2 separate regions of the Homo sapiens genome follow, and region 2 is linked to region 1. Evidence: promoter capture Hi-C in 16 types of primary human blood cells and fetal thymus (Javierre and others, 2016). All regions are on one chromosome and are shown on one strand. The core of a region is centred on a gene start or on the middle of the fragment in contact, and the rest is flanking DNA. Distances in the headings are between cores, read along the strand shown. Region 1 holds the start of AARS2 (alanyl-tRNA synthetase 2, mitochondrial). Region 2 overlaps LOC105375070 (a long non-coding RNA gene).

Region 1 (6,522 bases), core at 538-3,037:
GGGGGGGGAAGACGGGTGAGAGGGAGACCCCACTGAAGTAATCAAGCCACATGAGTTTAGCTCCCGACTTAAGACAAAAGCATTTCTGCTGCCATCTTGTTCCCAGAATAAGCCATGAACCATTACTGCCTCTGAGTGTTTTCCTGCCCAGAAAGCTTCCCCCTTCTTCTAAGTCCTATCTTCTTTCAAGTCCCAGACCAAGTCCCACTTTCACATGAAATTCTCTGCCTACTCTAGCCTAGAGTGATCTTTAACTCCAGTAAGCACCTTAGCATTGCTGTTTGACCATTTATTCAAACAACAATTTTTGAGTGATCATTAGGCAGAAAGTACAGTCTCTGCCCTTCAGGGACTTACAATCCAATCAGGGAGGTGAGGTAATTCCTGTTACACCGGCTCAACTAGCACTTTGCCTCCACATCTGGTATGAGGCCCTGCCTAAGCAGACAGTACAATGGAAACAGGACAAATTGACTCCCTTCTTGGCTGATCACTGATCCCCAGAGACTCACCTTAAAATATTCACCCCCAAAGGCCCAATTGCCAAGCATTTCAAAGAAGGTATGATGGGAAAGGTCTCGACCCACATCTTCCAGGTCGTTATGGTGTCCTCCAGCTCTCACACATTTCTGGCTGTTGGCCACACGTCGGAAGCCTGCCATCTCGCTTCGTGGATCCACGGTGCCCAGAAAGATTGGCTTGAACTGGAAGCACATAGAGTGGGGAGGGGGAGAGGGATATCCAATTTCTCAGTAGAAGGGAAATGTGGGGAGTGAGGATAGGGATGGCTGTTCAGACCGAAGGCTGACTGTGCCCCTGAGAGTGCAGTGTAATCTTGGTCTATGAGGACAAACTGGGAGCCTCGGGACAGCCATCTCTGGTGTGTGGGGAGCAGAGAAGAGGTAAACAAATCATGAACCGGAGACCCTCTGCCTAGTAAAATAGGCAAGGTAAAAGAAGGAGGAATGTGTTGGGAGCTGGAAATGGGACGCTGAAAGGTGGCATCCTCCGTCTCAGCTTCTTCAACCACACCCAATAACTTCAGGGAACAAAACTGAGACTCATTTAGTAGGGAGCCCAGACGGCCTCTAAGGTTAACTTATGCCGCCCCTATTTTACAGATGAGGACAATGAAGTCTAGAAAAGATGAGTGGTTGATAAAAACCAAAACCTTAGAGAATAGTACTCAGCAAACAATAGGTGATCAATAAACATTTAATGAAAGCGTTATCTTTATTTAAATAACGAATAAATGAAATCAGACTTCTCCCTCGGGATTCCACTCCAGCCATTTCTGGACCTAATACTCAATCCCAATCCAGAAGTTCCCAGCTCAAGCCCTCCCCAAGCCCTCCCTATACTCTGAGCGCCGTACCCCCATCACTTTACCCAACCAAGCACCGCCCTCTTTCCCCAAAAGCTACGAACTCCGCCTCTCGCTTCTTTTGCCCAATCCTGCAGCGTCTTTCTCACCAGAAAACTCACGAACTCCGCTCCCTATCAGTATGGTTCGGCCCTCACCTGGTTCATGCCCGCATTGACAAAAAGCAAACTGGGGTCGCCGCGGGGCCGCACGGAAGCGGAGGGCACCAGCCGGTGGCCATGGCGGTCCCGAAAGAAGTTCAGAAAGGCGGCCCTCACGGCCGAGGCCTTGGCTGCAGGGGGCTCCGATGAGAGCGGCCGATGGCTGAGGCCCCGCCATGCGGGCGACCTTCGAATGGCCCGCCGCAGCCTCCGGGCTGCAGCTGCCACTGACGCTGCCATCGTAGCTCCGGGCAGTGACTTTACGTGGTCAAAGAGTGACGAGGGAAGGAAGCCAGGCGTTTCCTACAGCGGCCCCTGGCGGTAGGAGGACTCAGGGGGCGGCCTCTGCCGCCGGGGTGGAAGCGATCGATTGGGTCGCTGGCAGAGTCTAGCACAGCGCCCGGCACATAGTAGGCTCTTAATTCATTCGGCATTAAGCAAATATTCATTGAGAGCCTACTATGTGCTAGGCATTGTTTTGGGCTTTTAGGGTACAAAATTGACAAAATGCCCTGCCCACTGAAATCCGTATTCTAGCAGTAATTGCTGTTGTGCTTATTAGTTTTGCAAAGTTACAGATGGGGTTGCAATAAACAGGTGTGGATTCAACTTCGTGTGTGTGTGTGTGTGTGTGTGTGTGTGTTTTGTGTGTGTTTTTCCAGGCTGAGGGAAGAAGGCAGAGAGTGACAGGGGAGTATCAGCATTCATTCAAGAGGTATTCAACAAATATTTATTGAAGACCTAGTATGTGCTAGGCACTGTTCTAGGCATTTGCCAGTTTCCTTGGACCTTGGCATCAGACACGGCCATTTTTGCCCGTGAAGCAGGAGTCTATAGGAGAACACAGAAGCCAAACAGCATCTGCTATATTATTAATTGCCTAACATTTGGTCTTCTCATTTGCCTGGGGATCAGAGAGAATCCAGGTCGTCAAGGCAGGAGGAAGCTGTTGGCTAATAGCTGCAGAGATTTCACTCTCTAAGCCTTCTAATGCCCTAAGGTTTTGTGTGTTTTCGTTTAGGATAAGAGATATACCTGTTCTACCTCTCCCTTCTGTCTTTCCATAGTAACAGCTGTGACCCTGAAGCCAACAGGCCCTTGTGGATGCAATCAGGGTGCTCATGGGGCTTCTCATGATGCCCTTGGCTTGGGAAATTAAACAGATTGGGAAGACAGAAGAGAATCTGCCAAAGCTAAAACTCAATAGAGGTTCCAGAGCTGAGGTCAGTGTAATAACCGAGAAGGCCTTAGCCATCAGGGTGGTCTCTTTTAGCCACGATTCTGTGTGTGTTAAGTTATTTGGGGTCTTTGTATACATAGTTTCTCTGCGGAATCTACATTGGACTTGAATTTCTATAGTGATAGTAAATTCTTAACTTTGTGTTCTGACAGCACCTATAACTCCTATTCCATGATCCCCTTTTTCTCCCTTTGCCCACATAGATTAAAGGTGTTGTTTTGAAAGTGTGTTTGGCCTGTTTTGGTTTTTCCAGTGTTTCTGGAACAGAAAGCTAAAGCCAGCTGGGGATTTCTGTGTGATTAATGACTTTTTTATTTTTTTGAGATGGGGTTTCACTCTTGTTGTGCTGGCGTGCAATAGCACAATCTCGGCTCTCTGCAACCTCTGTCTCCCGGGTTCAAGCAATTATCCTGCCTTAGCCTCCTGAGTAGCTGGGATTACAGGCATGCATCACCACGCCCGGCTAATTTTGTATTTTTAGTAGAGATGGGGTTTCTCCATGTTGGTCAGGCTGGTCTTGAACTCCCGACCTCAGCTGACCTGCCTACCTCAGCCTTCCGAAGTGCTGGGATTACAGGCATGCACCACTGCGCCCAGCTGAGATTGATGATCTTTAGACAAGACTGTGAAATTATTTCCCAAACTGAGATGGGAGTGTTTTGCCATACAAACCTGGCAGGGCCTCTACTCAGTACTGACATCAACTTTTTTTTTTTCAGATTTTGCCCAGAAAGTCATTGTGTTACATTAGAAACTCCAAACATGGATCTAGTGTGGAGCCATATAATTTTTTTAAAACAGCTTTATTGAAATATAATTTACATGCTATACAATTCGCCCATTTAAATAAAGTATACAGTTCAATGCCTTTTAGTATATTTACATAGAGTTGCCCATCCATCACCACAATCACTTTTAGAACATTTTCATTACTTCCAAATAAAACCCCAAATCCTTTAGCCATTAACCCCCAATCGTCTCATCCTTCCTAGCCCTTGGCAACCACTAATCTACCTTCTGTCTCTACAGACTTGTATATTCTGGACATTTCATGTAAATGGAATCATGTAATATGTGGTTCTTTGTAACTGGCTTCTTTCACATAAAATAATATTTTCAAGGTTCATCCATGTTGTAGCATGTACCATGGATTTTTAGAAAAATGTTTTTAGTTGTTTTCTGTTTGAAGTAGGTTTTTCTCTCATCTAATTTTGTCTTTGCCACTAAAAATGATAATTTTCTTTTCTTTAAATGTGGTGCTCTTTGGTGAATCATTAGGTTCTTTTTAATATTTCCCAGTGAAGCAAAGCGGTTCATCTAGGATTGGGACGTGTCTGTTCTGGTTTGCAGCTGTCATCTGATGAGGAAGTTAAATTGAAGGACTGCAGTTTCCCAAGATAGATGGAGGTGGAGAAAACTCATCAGACAGGGAAGTTACCAATCCTGGGAACTTCTCTGAAGGGTACTGATCCACTGTCTTAGTATTTATGGGAATTTCATTTTGAGGTTTAACATGCAAATGGGGTCTGCTTTTTGCGAGTTACTCAGCTGGGTTTTGTGAGCAACATTTGGGGTGCTCCTTTCATTGTTTAAGACAGTGGTGCTTTATCTTCCCTGGAGGTGGGATTTACCCTTACGTTGCCATTCGACCTACTTATCTTGGTAGGTTCAAGGCATCCAGCCATTCTTTGTGCTCTCCCTTTCACCTTGTTTAAAAGATGTAACACTCTTATTCTAGGAGTAGAAAGTGTCCTTTCTGATTTCCCGATTGGCTTTGAGAGCAGGACCCCAAGATCAGTGAGACATTCTGTCCTGGATTGATGGTCAGAGAAGACAAAGGGAATTTTCACTCTTACTAAGCATGGGGAACTCAACTTTGGGAATTTCCTCTTATAAATCATAAAAACAGTCTTTTAGCGTCTAGGTTAAAAAGTCAGCCTACGACAGGTGTTTCTGATTTGATGTGTTTATTTATGGCATTGGCTTATCTGGATTGTGAAAGCAACCAACACTTGCCAAACATTAATATGCATATGGATCTCCTGCGATCTTGTTACATATGCAGACTATGATCCAGTAGGTCTGGAGTAGGTGAAATTCTGCATTTCTAGCAGGCTCCCGGTGATGCTGCTGCTGCTGCTAGTCTACTAGACCATACCTTGAGTGACAAGGGTGTAGTAAAGGACTTGTGAGGGGAGTCTGGACACAGGCTTTAGGAAACGTTCTTTTGCCTGGTCCTGGGGCCTAAGACTCAGGTGCCCTTAGGTTCTCCCTTTCTCCTGGGAGGGGTGCTCACCCAGAGTAGGTGGGTGTAGCTGGGAGCTCATCGTGCGCAAGAGCGCTCGCCCCCTTCCTTCCCCCAGCTTCTTAGGGAAGTGAGGGTGGTGATTGCGTCCGCCTGTGGCTTAGAGCCGTGGAGGTTAATGTGGACCAGGGTGGAAGGGGAGCGGTTACCATGGGAATCTGGCAAAGTCATCAGGGCACGCCGATGGCTGGTGGAGCCCCCGGATCAGGAATTCAAGTATTGGTGGACCCTTGAGGGCCTCAATTCTAGAGGTTTATCCTCATGCATTAAAAAAATACTGTAGTTACATTTTATTTATTTTTATTTTATTTTTATTATTTTTGAAAGAGATAGGGTTTTGCTATGTTGCCCAGGCTAGTTTTGAACTCCTGGTGTCAAGCATTCCTCATGCCTCGGTCTCCAAGATAAACATTTTAACTGGTTATAGAAATACCTACATAAGAAAGAAGTAGACATAGGAGACTCCATTTTGTTCTGTACTAAGAAAATTTCTTCTGCCTTGGGATGCTGTTAATCTAGAACCTTGCCCCCAACCCCGTGCTCTCTGAAACAGGGTTAAATGGATTAAGGGCGGTGCAAGATGTGCTTTGTTAAACAGATGCTTGAAGGCAGCATGCTGGTTAAGAGTCATCACCACACCCTAATCTCAAGTACCCAGGGACACAAACACTGCAGAAGGCCGCAGGGACCTCTGCCTAGGAAAACCGGAGACCTTTGTTCACGTGTTTATCTGCTGACCTTCTCTCCACTATTATCCTATGACCCTGCCACATCCCCCTCTCCGAGAAACACCCAAGAATGATCAATAAATACTAAAAAAAGAAATACCTACATAACAACTTCGATTTTGCCTCTTGGCCTGGAAAGCCTAAAATATTTAATACGTGGCTTTTCAAAAAAAGTTTGCCAAACACTGCAATAGAGATTTTTTAAAAATCACACCATAAAACGTAGATGCAGAAAATCAACCAAAACAAATGTTGACTTGTTTCAATGTTGTTGATTCAAAGGCAGACATCTTTGTATCCACTACCCAGGTCTTGAAATAGAACTTTGCAGCCACCCCAGGGCCCCTCCATGGATTCTGCCCTGCCCCCAACCAGCTTCCTTCTCCCAAAGGTGACCATTACCCTGACTTTCATAGTAATCACTGCATTTTTTTTTTTTTGAAACAGAGTTTCAGTCTCGTTGCCCAGGCTGGAGTGCAATGGTACAATCTCGGCTCACTGCAACCTCCACCTCCCAGGTTCAAGCAATTCTCCTGCATCAGCCTCCTGAGTAGCTGAGATTACAGGCACCCACCACCACGCTTGGCTAATTTTTGTATTTTTAGTAGAGATGGGGTTTCACCATGTTGGCGAGGCTGGTCTTGAACTCCTGACCTCAGGTGATCCACCCACCTCAGCCTCCCAAAGTGCTGGGATTACAGGTGTGAGCCACCGAGTTCAGCCTG
Region 2 (6,522 bases), core at 1,480-3,979, 490 kb before region 1:
GAACACGGGGTTCCTGGAGTGTGGCCAGCCCAGGGAGGGCATGGAAGCTCCGTGACCCTCCCCACATACCTTGCCCTATGCACCTCTTCATTGTATCATTTGTAATATTTTTTATGGTACATCAGTAAATGTAAAAAAAAAAAAGACAATAGAAAAGGAAAGAGGTCACCAGGAGCCAGCATGGGCTCCCCACAACTAGTTGTGTCAGGTCAACTGAAAAAATAGGAGTGTTGAGAAATAGATAAGAAATATCCATTGAATCAAATTCAAAAAGCACAAAAGGTATACTATGAAAAGTCTTCCTCTCACCCTTCACTCTTAGCCAAACAGTTCCTCTATATGAATCTGTCTTTCTATATATCTATCATCATCTATCATCTATTTTTAATCTATTATCTATTTATCATCTAATCTTTTTCATCTATCTTTTCATCTACCTATTATCTATGATCTATATAATCTTTTTCATTTATCATCTATCTATCTATCTGTCTATCTATCTATCTATCTATCTATCTATCTAATCTAATCTACCTACCTACCCTTTAAAAAAACAAACTGTAGCATATTTTCCTTGCCATTTAAAAACTCTAACTTTCCTTTCCTCTAACAATGTGTCTTGAAGATTTTTACATAGCAGTGCATGTGAAGCTGCCTCATTCTTTTCATGCTGGTGGAGCACCGTGGTATAGATGCCTCATCATGGATTCAACCAGCCTCCGAAAGTCTCCAGTCTTTGTCTCTTATCAAGATTTCCACAGTGAATAATGCATCATTGCCGACACACAGGGAGTTGTCAACAGGGTTGTATGTCTATATATCACTTCCCACGTGGTTGATACATGTGATATGTATGTGTTTCTGTAGAATAAATACTCAGAGGTGAAATTGTTGAGCCAAAGAATGTATGTGTGTTTAATATTTACAGGTATTGTCAAATTTCCAAATTTCATAGAAGTTGTGGCCATTTTTGAATGTCTGAGGGGGTCTTTTTCCCTATATTTTTGCTGATGGTGTGAAAAGAGAGTAAATGAAAATAAGGAAGACCAGGGTCCAAGGACAAGCCATGAGGCATCCCAGTGTTGAAGAGTTGAGAAGCTGGAAAAAGCCAGCAGGGGAGGCTAAGGAGGAGCATCCAGGGAGGAAGGAGGAAAACCAGAGAGTGTGATGACTTGAAAATCAAGTGAAAAAACCTTTCCATAAGAGAGGGTGGGCCAGGTGCGGTGGCTCACACCTGTAATCCCAGCACTTTGGGAGGCCGAGGCGGGGGGATCACAAGGTCAGGAGATCGAGACCATCCTGGCTAACACAGTGAAACCCCATCTCTACTAAAAATACAAAAAATTAGCTGGGCGTGGTGGTGGGCACCTATAGTCCCAGCTGCTTGGGAGGCTGAGGCAGGAGAATGGCGTGAACCTGGGAGGCGGAGCTTGCAGTGAGCCGAGATGGTGCCACTGCACTCCAGCCTGGGCAACAGAGCAAGACTGCATCTCAAAAAAAAAAAAAAAAAAAAAAAAGAGGGCGGCCAAATGTGACAAATGGTGCCAAAAGGCCAAGTGGAATGAGGACTGAGGATTGATCGTAGGACTGGTACCTTGACCAGAGCACTTTCCAAGAGTGGTGGGGGTGAGCACTTGACCCACCACTAGCTAATGATTCCGACGAGGGCCTAGATGTGATTCTGTTCCCCCTGGGTGGAAAAGCGAGCCATCAGTGAGAGAATCAGGACTCAGAAGAACCAAGACAGGTGGCCACGATACAAGGAAGAATAGAGGACACAGTGATACCAGGTGACATTTCCAGGTCCCAAATGCCAACTACATAATGAGAGAGGGTAAATGTACCTAGTGCAAAAGACTTAGAGAATTTTGACAACTCCCTGTGTGTCAGCAATGATGTGTAGTAATCTGAAGAGCAAGGCAATTATAGGGTGGGTTAATGGACATATCGTATCCAGAATGAGAGAGGCGGTTGGCCCCCTGGGCTCAGCAGCAGCAAGTCCAAATGAGGGGAACTGGGTTCGGCTAGGGGACAGTAAGGTGGGAGACACAGTGGAGTCTGTTCAAGGAGCACACAGGGAGTTAAATAATTGTAAAGGAGGCTTCGTGAGAAATGGGTAAAGAACTAGAATGTTGAGCTTGGAAAAGAATGGACTTGGGGGACCTTCTTTTGCAAGAAGAGCTCTTCTAGGAGGAAGGGACTTAGGTGGGTTGTGTGTCTAAAAATGGTGGAATGCTGGCCAGTTGCAGTGGTTCACGCCTGCAATCCTAGCACTTTGGGAGGCCGAGGGGGAGGATCGCTTGAGGCTAGGAGTTCGACACTAGTCTGGACGACATAATGAGACCCCCGTCTCTACAAAAACAATAAAAAATGATGGGACAAGGCTGAGTGGAAGACGGAAGAAGACAGACATTGTGCCATGCCTTTTCCTACATTTATTTGTGAATTCTATGTGAAAATTTGTAATCTTTGAGTATTCCAAGCCATTTCCAACCCAGGTGTGTTCTCATCTACACCTTGTTGAATGCCTGAATCTTAAGTCTTGAGGAAACAATGCCTCCTCTAAAATCCACCTGAAGGAAATGAGCAACTTCTAATTTGATCACTAATCAGCACAGAGGAGGCTTATAATGGTGGCCACAGGGCTGGGGACTTGGCCTTCCCTGCGCTACCCTGTCACTGACTTGGCAGACAGCGTGACTGGCTGGCTCCTCACATCGCCGCCTATCCCTGCTCCCAAACGTCTGGGCGCTCAGGGAAAATTAGGAGGGAAGGGAGACCTGGCTCCTGTTCTCAGAGAACAGGACAGGCTCTAGGAGCTGGAGCCGGTGTGGTGATTATATCCTGCGCCAGGCAGAAGGCAAAGGGCAGCCTCCAAACTACACTTCCCGTAGCACTCTGGGTCAGTGCTGTCTCATAGAACTATACTGTGAGCCATATCTCTATTTTAAAATTTTCTAGAAGCCTCATCAAAAAGTAAAATGCACAGGTGAACTTGCAATCAATATATGAAAACTTGTTGAGATAATTTACATTATTTTTCATGCAAACACTTCACAATGTGGCATGTATTCCACACCAGAGCATGTCTTGATTTGGGCCAGCCATGTTTCAAATGCTCAACAGCCGCGTGTATGGATGGTGGGGTCTTGGTCAGTCACCTGTCTCACTGGTCCTCCCTTGCATGAAGGAGCCAGGGCTGCCAGTGGGTGTGCAGAGACTTGATGTCACCAGTCTAGTCTGTTCTACTGGTGCCCGCCCAGCTGTGGAAGGGGCTCCTGGGGATCCACAGGGGTGATTTGCTGAGTGCACATTTCTGTCTGGGAAGGGAGCCCATGCCTGTGTGTGCCTGCTGTTTTCCAGTTATGGTAAATATTAACGAAGCAGTGGGAGCCAGGCCCTCCAGGAGGCCTGGGCTCCCCCACGGGGAGGAATGGAGATAATGCTGTGTACCTTAGATAGGGCTTTAAACCTGGCCTCTGAGGCTGCAGGGTTTGAGCTGCCAGGGAAACATGGGCATGACTTTTGTTCCCAGGACCAGGATTCCTTGCTGGGAGATTCTCAGAACCCGCAGACCTCAGGAGTGCCACTTGCCTCCACATTTGCAATGGCCTCACCCCACTTCTTACAGTCTCCCACTCACAACCCACCCTCTTCACTTAAAGAGCTCTTCTCTCCAAATCCACTTGCCAACAAGCCAGCTCAGCCAAACTTAAGGGGATGGGAAACAGATTGGGTTCAGATGATTTCTTTAAAAAAGAAACCCAAACCAATAAGCACGTACTGAGCGCTTGCAGACGCTGGGCTGTCACATACACTTCCTCCTTCTCGCAGCAAGCAGGGCTGTGGCTGTCACCCCAGCCCAGGAGAGGGACGTGAGAGCCAAAGGAGTCAGCATCACAGCCTGGAGACAAAGCTGGGATTTTGACTGGATGCCATCTAGTTAGCTATCAGAAAGTTCTCTCCAAGAGGGGAGAACACTAGTGTTTATTTGTATTTGCATAAACAAACACTGAAAAAATACGTAAGAAACTAATGTAAGTGATTACATGTGGTGGAGGGAATGGGAAGGTGGGGGGGGTGCGGGTACTGGGAGTGAGAATTCTCAAGGATAATTACTTTGATATTTGAACTGTGAGGATATATTACCTAATTTGAAAAACAAGTGAGATGAAATTTTAACTGTTTATTTATTTTTTCCTGGTAGATGAAGATGTTTTCAGAGTAAATGAGCTTGAACACCTAATTGAAACTGATTTGATATCCAGAATGTATGTAAGGGTTTTATTTTATTTTCAATAAAGATAATCCACTTACATGACCAAAAAAAGTGAGTTCTTTCTGGTCATGGCATGGAATTAGTCTTCTTCAACTTCTATGTTTGGCTCCCAGTTTCCAGTACGACGAGGAAAACCACCTCCTTCTATCACTCAGCCCCCAACTTGAGTGGGGAGATGAAGCTGTGTCCTCAGGGAGCCGCAGTCTGAGGGAGCCCCAGTCTGAGGGGAGACACAGCCCCATCCTCAGGGGGGTCCCAGTCTGAGGCGAGATGCAGCCTTTCTCAGGGGGGCCCGGTCTGAGGGGAGATGTAGCCCTGTCCTCAGGGAACCTCAGTCTGAGGGAAGACACAGCCCCGTCCTTAGGGGGCCTCAGTCTGAGGGGAGACGCAGAGCTTTGCCCTGAGGGAGTTCCCAAGCCCAGCTTCTCTGGGTCAGGTAAAATTAGTGGAGGGAATTCCTCTGTGTTCTGAAGCATCCACTTCCTCTCTGGGCCTGGCTCCCCTTCCCGTCGCAGGAAACCTCCTAAGTTCCCAGCCTATTCTGTGTGTCAACACTTGTTTCCCCAGAGTGCTTGTCCTTGGTCCCTGGAAGGGGTTTATGTGTTCTTCCTTGCCTTCAGCCTCTTCTGAAGCCAGGGAATGCATGTCCTGAGGGGCTGGGGGAGGCCTGTGCTGGCTTCCTCGATAGCTCCCCAGGACACACGCTCTACACCTGCCACTCTGAGGGCTGAGCTGGGCTGGGCTGAGGGTGGGCCAGTGTGCCAGGTGGTGTGGAGCTCTGGGGGACTGCCCTGCCCTTTGCCCATGCAGCGTGTGGGCACTGAGACTGCGGGAGAGCCCAGGGACTTCTCCCGGCTCAGGGATCACGTCCAGTGAGACTATCTGGAGACAGGCAGGAGGATGAGTGCGAGGCCTTCAATCCTTCTTGGAGTTCACAAAGTCATTGACCTGGGAAGGGAAGGGCATGCCAGGGCAGGGCAGACTGGGCACACTTGCTGTGTTTTCTTCTGAGCAGAGGGTGCTGCCTTCAGCCGAGATGGAGGGCCGAGCCCTAGCTCCAGCCAGGCTCCTCAGCACCCTTGAGGGGCAGCTAGTGGCCTGCAGTTACCACCACCTCCCAGGGAAGGGCCGTACCTGCCACTCCCCCAACTTGCATTCCCCTTTCTTCCCCCACTGGCAGAGGAGGGGTCCTAGGGGTCTAGACCAGGCCTGAGAGGCTGGAGTAATGTATGCGGATGGAATGATGGAATCTGGTTGGGAGACAGGTGGCAATGAAATGAACCCCTTTTTGGATACTCCCCTCTGAGCTCACCCACCCGTCAGTCTTCTTGTCTCCATTCTTGACCTCCTTCCAACCTGGCTGCGAAGGTGACAGGGAGACCCCAGCTGCCTGCAGGGTCTGAGCAAGGACCAGATGGAGAGAGCAGCCATGCTAGACAGAGTGCAGACTAGAATCTGTGATTCCCAGCACCTGAGAGTTAGAGAGGGAGGGATCTTGGGTCATCCAGTCCAATGCCCTCATTGGCCAAGTGGGGTAACTGAGACCCATAGAGGTTTTTCCAAAACATACTGGAGAAACCACAGGAGAAGGCCCAATGATGGGACCTAGAAAGCAATTTGCTGGGGTGATGTGGGAAAATGCCAAGGTCAGAGTGAGTGAGGTGGCAAAGGAGACAGATACCCAGTGGGATGGAGGAGGGGCTGGGGTGTTTGCCCAGAGTAGCAGGGCTGCAGGAAAAGAAAACGAAGCATTTAGGATTCTTGCAAGATAAGACCTCAGGCAACCCCAAGGGTCAGCGGTCAGCTGGTCAGCTCCTTAGGAATGTGGGCCAGTCAGCAGCACCTTTGACTCGGCACCCTTGCTCTATAGCCCAGAGTGATCTTGCAAAAGTCATTCCCCCACAGAGGTCTTAGTCTCTCCATCTGTAAAGGGAAGCCAGCACACAGCCTTCTCAAAGGACCTCCCATCTCCACATTTCTACATCACAGAGAATGACACAATAGATTTGAGATACTTTTCTCTGTTTGGCATTTCTCGCTCTCCCTGTGCCTCAATTTCCACATCTGTAAACTAGGGATAAAAATGATATCTATTTCTTAAGGTGGTTGTAAAGATTAAATGAGTGATACATGTAAAGCATTTAGTACAGCGCTCAGCCCACAGAAAGCTTTTTGTTTTGTTTTGTTTTGTTTTAGAGACAAGTGTCTCGCTCTGTTGCCCAGGCTGGAGTACAGTGGTGTGA

The links. The method cuts DNA at HindIII sites, captures the fragments that hold promoters and counts their contacts. A CHiCAGO score of 5 or more calls a contact.
Region 2: a fragment that was not itself captured here is called in contact with the fragment with the promoter of AARS2 in region 1 in 1 of 17 cell types (neutrophils); the score reaches 5.5 in neutrophils.

What each region holds. Positions count from the first base shown.
Region 1 is chr6:44,311,560-44,318,081 of GRCh38, forward strand. AARS2 (alanyl-tRNA synthetase 2, mitochondrial) reads right to left here and starts at 1,788. Exons shown (of 22, transcript NM_020745.4): 1 at 1,522-1,788; 2 at 513-704. The coding sequence starts at 1,764. LOC124901322 (a long non-coding RNA gene) reads left to right here. Exons shown (of 3, transcript XR_007059594.1): 3 at 2,592-2,988. RefSeq lists an enhancer at 1,533-2,092. The HindIII fragment of the contact is 8,838 bases long and covers 154-6,522 here.
Region 2 is chr6:43,820,810-43,827,331 of GRCh38, forward strand. All of the region lies in intron 1 of LOC105375070 (a long non-coding RNA gene), which reads left to right. Among named protein-coding and RNA genes, the nearest start is that of LINC02537, 28 kb to the right of the region's middle. The HindIII fragment of the contact is 7,431 bases long and covers 1-6,445 here.